Regions from separate parts of the Homo sapiens genome. Here region 1 is linked to region 2. The links are contacts of gene promoters, found by promoter capture Hi-C in blood cells and fetal thymus (Javierre and others, 2016). All regions are on one chromosome and are shown on one strand. Each heading gives the region's core, a stretch centred on a gene start or on the middle of the fragment in contact. The rest is flanking DNA. Distances are from core to core; before and after follow the strand shown.

Region 1 (3,137 bases), core at 366-2,865, 230 kb before region 2:
AAAGTATTATGTGTATTCATGAGTTTTTAATTTAATTCATGGAAAATAGATTTATGCTGTTAGATCCTCTGGTGAACTCATTTAGTCATGTTGTAGATATAGGTCAATGATTATTCTCATTCATGTTTAGACGGAATTAAAGAGGAGTCAAATAGAGAACAATATTATCTTAACTGAGTCTCTGGCAGTGGTATTACCACTATTACTCTGTATGTGTGTGTGTGTATGTGTGTGTGTGTGTGTGTGTATGTGTGTGTGTGTGTGTGTTTGAATTCTAATATTCTGGGAAACTTTAAAAGTGGCATATCTAGCACTTATGTTTTTCTCAGTACTAAAATGCATAAAAGAGCACCATATTGACCTACCAGCTGCTTCTAAATCACACCAGTAGTAGGTAATTATGAAATTCAAATGAAGTTTAATTTTCATTTATTATACAAAAATGTCATAGCTCAAACCCAGAAGTGTTACCCCCAAGCTTGGATATAGACAGGTATGTGTGTACATTTTACTTTTCAAGATGAATCATAGCAGTCTTCTCCATTACATGTAAGGACTAGAAGTTGTACATTCCACTCAGGTACCTAAAGGCAAGCCTGTGCTAGCCCACACTAACAAAGCAAAATGAAGCAAAGGATCTATCTGGCTTTCAATCAGGGATGCATCTATGCTATCATCAGCTCTGTCACATAATAAATGAGTCTATAGATAACTTGAACTACTCAGCCAATGGGCTGTAACCCAGTGATTCTGTGGTATTGAAAGGCAGCAACCCCCAGAAGCCACATGTCTCAGTGTGCACTCCAGGACTGTAGGCCCATAGAACTTGTATGTATGCACACATGCATATGCATTCCCCACTTTTCTAATGGCGATCCAATCTAGGCCTAATCCACAGCTAGTCCAGAAAAGAACTTTTTTAGGTTTTCTGTCTGCCATCACTTTGTTGAGAGGCAGTACAAGCCAAGCAGGTGTCTGTATTTATAATATGCACAATGTTAGGATAACTCAAACTCATAAGGGAAAGATTAATGGCTGACTACTATGAAAACCGCTTCTAGCCTTGTGATACCAGCACCTACTATCTTCCTTTTTCTCTTATATGATGAAAAGATTTCAATGTTGGCTTTTCATTCTGATAGAATGTGCAAGCCAAAATCTAAATAAAGTCCAGTGGCAATGATCCCCTTAAACATTATATCTTTCTTCTCGATATGCTGATGTTTTCCCTTATAAAAATCTATGTAAGTTTCAAGATTTATATGACAGACAAACCACACAAACAGGAGGTCCCTCACATTCACTACTAGTCACTTGCTCTATCACTCTGGGAATAGCGGTCTTCAGATTGCATCTCTACTCTACCTCTTGCTCTTTTCAACCCCTCTCCTCTTTTTTAGACCATACAGGGCATCAGACAAGGTTTAGTTTACCACTAAACTTTGGGATTTGGAAGATGGTGTATAAACTGATACAGGTAGTCCACTCACAGATGTAGTATATAATTACAGACTTGAGTTTTCAGGGGCTCTTCTCCAGTTTCCTGTCAATCAATTTCCCTGGCTGAGACATTAGCATTTGTCAGTGACCATGCTTACTATATACATACACAATTGTGTATACACAATTGTAAAATTAAATACGGGCTTTAGAAGAGATTATTTTTTCTTAAGAGTAGGTTACTCTATAAATGCCAAAGCATGTGTTATGACATAGAAATTCAAATGACTAAGAATAGCTAATTGTTTAGAAACATCTTACTTGATGTCTATTGTTCCAAAATTTGATCCAATTTAGAGTGGTACCAATCCATGGTGTAGAATATAAAAGCTAAAGGATAACAAAAATCCTAGGAATCTCATGCCAGTAAGAAAGTTCTACCAGTCAGATGAGATGTTGAGAGCATTTATGACTTGGCATCAGGAATATTATAAGTAAAATTCATGTGAGCAGTAATTGCAGCTATGAACCATGTTATTTGTTCCCACTTGTCCAACTGTAATTCTTTCACTTAGCTCAGAGTAGTTCTTTGTAACATTAGGGCCCACTCATCTGCCTTTAGGTAGGGTTTTAAAAGATGCCTAGAAAATAGTTCTGTGCTAGAAATCAGAGACTCTTGACCTACTGTAAAGGGAGCAGTAAGCACGTTTCCTCAGGAGAATCTTTCTACATACTGCAGATTCCCATAAAAATCTTTGTGACAAAATTGCCTTTACTGAAACCATCATCCATTGGATTAAAAAATAGCTTACCATTAGCTTTTTGAAAATAGAAAACGTTGAGCCTTTTCAATGATACTTTCAATAGTTTTTCACAACTATGAGTCCTCAAGCTATCAGTCTTATTTTTAGATACCATACTTATAAGATAGTTATAGAATTTATAGAGTATGGTTTAAAAGACTATTCAATTATAGAGCAATCATTCAGTTTATTCCCATGGCAGAAGTAAATGGAAACCACTCCAGATCAACAAGAATCTACTCTCTTCTGATTCAGAAAAGAGATTTCCTATCTTTTCATGAATAATCCATGTTCAATGTTTAACACCTCAGGAAGATTTTCTTAATAGCTTCTTCTGGTCATAAATCCTTGGTCTGTCATCAGGGACATATTGAAGAGTTAGTTACCAAAGTTCTTAATGTCTCCCATTGTAAAAAAAAAAAAAAAAAAAAGTCACTTTTTGGATTGTTTCTTTCATAGAGTCCATGCTTCTGTACGCTTAATACTTTAGCTTTTGACTTCAAGCTTTAGGTAATGCAAATGAAGCTATTACATCACCAAAGTTAAATTTTTCTTGTAAGTATATTCTCAACATTCACAATTGAGAGCTGCCTCTTCTTTGGCTGGTATAAGGTTTTAATTTATTGTAGCACTTTCACCCTAGAATGGCAAAAAATGTTGAAATCAATTCCATATATCACCAATACAAAGTACTAAGTCAAGGCCGGGTGTGGTGGCTACGCCTGTAATGCAAGCACTTTGGGAGGCCAAGGCGGGCAGATCACTTGATGTCAGGAGTTCGAGACCAGCCTGACCAACATGGTGAAACCCCATCTCTACTAAAAATACAAACATTAGCCAGGCGTTCATAGCGAGCGCTTGTAATCCCAGCTACTTGGGAGGCTGAGGCAGGAG
Region 2 (3,205 bases), core at 50-2,549:
AGTACAAATAACCCAATTTTAAAATGGACAAAAGACTTGAATAGAGTTTTCTCCAAAGAAGATACAAATGACTATGAAAAGATGCTCAACATCAATAGCCATTATGGAAATGCAAATCAAAACCACAGTGAGATACCACTTTACATCCACTAGAAAAACAACAAAGACAATGACAGTGTTGGAACCTTCATACATTGTTAGTGGGCATGTAAAATGATGAGGGGACTTTGGAAAACAGTCTAGCAGTTCCTCAAAATGTTAAACAGAGTCTTAACATATGACCCAGCAATTCTAGTCCCAGGTATATACCCAAGGGAGTTGAAAACATATGTCTATTATAAAAATCCTCATAGCTGCATTAGTCATAATAGTCACAAAATGGAAACAACTCAAATGCCCATCGACTGATGAATGAGTAAATAAAATGTGGTATATCCATACAATGAAATATAATTCAGCCATAAAAAAGACAAAAGTTAAAGACATTATGCTAAATGAAAGAGGCCATATAAAGGCCGCATATAGTATGATTTATTTGAAATGTCCAGAGTAAGCAAATCTCTAGAAACAGAGATTTCATTTGTGGTTGTCGGGCCAGTGAGGAAGGCGAGATGGGCAGTAACTACTCATGGGTAGGGGATTTCATTTTGGAATAAGGAAAACGTTCTGAAATTAGATTTTTGGTGATGGGGTGATAGTTACACAACTTCATGAATATACTAAAAACCATGGAAATGTTTCAGAGGGTGAATTTTATGGCAGAGGAATTGTATCTCAATAGTGCAGTTTGTTGTTGTTGTTTGACACAAGTCTTGCTCTGTTGCCCAGGCTGGCGTGTAACGGCACAATCCCAGCTCACTGCAACCTCCGCCTCTTGGGTTCAAGCAATTCTCCTGCCTCAGCCTCCCGAGTAGCTGGGACTACAGGTGCGCGCGCCAGCATGCCTGGCTAATTTTTTTTGTATTTTTAGTAGAGACGGGGTTTCACCATGTTGGTCAGGTTGGTCTCCATGTCCTGACCTCGTGATCCGCCCGCCCCGGCCTCCCAAAGTGCTGGGATTACACGCGTGAGCTACCGTGCCCGGCCTAGAGCAGTTATTTTTAAAAGATGGTCTTGAAACATTCAGCGCCAAGTGGCCGGGATTTCCGACGGAAGTCAGCGCTTGTGCCCCCACCCCCTTGCCCCGCAACTCTGTCCCCCGCCGCCCCTCCCCCCACCGACAGAGCGCGCTCCTCCCTAACGGTCGCCACTGCCCACTTCCACTGCCCACTTCCGGTTTCATCGCACACCCGCCTTTCACTATCCGCCATTCTTGTCACCTCAGCTGCTGCCCTCGCTACCGCACCGACTTCGCCCGTGTGCTCGCCTGCACTTGCGCTGCCCGCCATGGCCACCGCCCAGCCGTCGCAGGTGCGCCAGAAGTACGACACCAACTGCGACGCCGCCATCAACAGCCACATCACGCTGGAGCTCTACACCTCCTACCTGTACCTGTCTATGGCCTTCTACTTCAACCGGGACGACGTGGCCCTGGAGAACTTCTTCCGCTACTTCCTGCGCCTGTCGGACGACAAAATGGAGCATGCCCAGAAGCTGATGAGGCTGCAGAACCTGCGCGGTGGCCACATCTGCCTTCACGATATCAGGAAGCCAGAGTGCCAAGGCTGGGAGAGCGGGCTCGTGGCCATGGAGTCCGCCTTCCACCTGGAGAAGAACGTCAACCAGAGCCTGCTGGATCTGTACCAGCTGGCCGTGGAGAAGGGCGACCCCCAGCTGTGCCACTTCCTGGAGAGCCACTACCTGCACGAGCAAGTCAAGACCATCAAAGAGCTGGGTGGCTACGTGAGCAACCTGCGCAAGATTTGTTCCCCGGAAGCCGGCCTGGCTGAGTACCTGTTCGACAAGCTCACCCTGGGCGGCCGCGTCAAAGAGACTTGAGCCCAGATGGGCCCCACAGCCACGGGGTCCCTTCCCTGGGTCAGGCCACTAGGCGGGGCGTGCATGTTGCCCTTTCAGAACGTTCTCTTCAGTTTTATCTTTCAGTTTTACCATTGTTAGCAAAAAAGTTATCTGGTTCTCAAAGCAATAAAGGTGTCCATTTGATACACCTGCAACTCTCACCTTTTAGGAATCAGGGCAAATCCCCATGCAGGTTTAAAGTAGGTATCCAGCAGTCTCTCCACCCACCCCTGCCCCATCTGCATGCAGCTCAGGATTTGCAGGGGTGGAGTGGAATGGTATTTTATGGGCCCCTGGAAAACACATTAGTCTTCCCTTTGTAAACTACCAGGGTATGTGGGGTGGGATGGGGTGGGGTGGTCACTCTTGGGCCCTGGTGGCTGTGGGTGCATGGGCACGGTAAAGTGTAAAACGTGGTCTGGAATTCATCATAGTGGTTGCCTCTGGGGAAGAAGTGAAGGAAATGGGATTGGGCAAGGATTAAAATAAACAAAGGGTCTTCAACTTTACATGAAAACTTGTAGTTTATTAAAATATGCCAATGTTAATGTTTGTGGATTCTGAGTAGCAAGTGGGGGCTCTGGGTGACAGCACAGCAGGGTACTTCTTTGGCAAGCTCACTTTGGGTGACAGTTGTAGTGGGAGCCTTAAGCTGGCTTCCCCATAGCCAAGGGGCTGACAAACTAAAATGGCACTTTGCAAGTCCAAGTCCTTTTATTTACATTGTTGTACTTTGTTTTTACAAGAATCTCAGGAAGAAGGAAGGACAAGTATCATGACTTTATTAGTGACAAAAAGGGAGGCCATACAGGCAAGAAGTTGTGGAATCTGGACATGAACCTCGATCTTCTGATGCCATGTTCCTTTTTCTTTCTGTTACCCTGCAAGTATATCAACGGGTTAAAGAAGATTGTGTGGGTAGACTGGGAATCTAGCCAAATAACCAGCCCTGGAAGGGAGGGAAATCCCCCAACACTCTTAAAGACAGCCCTGATCACTGGAGTCTCTCTCCTAATTACAGGTGTGCCTTCCAGCCTAGGGTGGGGACAGCTTCTAAACCTCAGCCAAAATCCTTCTCTTATGAAAGAAGCCTTCAGAATAAGTAACAGACTATATGAGGTAGTAGGGCACCTCACAGGAAGGCAGCCAACACCTGTACACTTGAACCCCTCTGTTCAGGTACTCTCCCTGAAGCAGACAGTCACACTGTTGCCTGAGTTGGCACTGAATACCTAAGAAGGCCTTA

Evidence for each region. The method cuts DNA at HindIII sites, captures the fragments that hold promoters and counts their contacts. A CHiCAGO score of 5 or more calls a contact.
Region 1: a fragment that was not itself captured here is called in contact with the fragment with the promoter of FTHL17 in region 2 in 1 of 17 cell types (total B cells); the score reaches 6.0 in total B cells.

What each region holds. Positions count from the first base shown.
Region 1 is chrX:31,295,521-31,298,657 of GRCh38, reverse strand. The region is part of intron 62 of DMD (dystrophin); the gene reads left to right. Among named protein-coding and RNA genes, the nearest start is that of FTHL17, 230 kb to the right of the region's middle. The HindIII fragment of the contact is 2,269 bases long and covers 481-2,749 here.
Region 2 is chrX:31,070,135-31,073,339 of GRCh38, reverse strand. It overlaps FTHL17 (ferritin heavy chain like 17), which reads left to right and starts at 1,299. Exons shown (of 1, transcript NM_031894.3): 1 at 1,299-2,107. The coding sequence starts at 1,387. The coding sequence ends at 1,938. The HindIII fragment of the contact is 17,190 bases long and covers 1-3,205 here.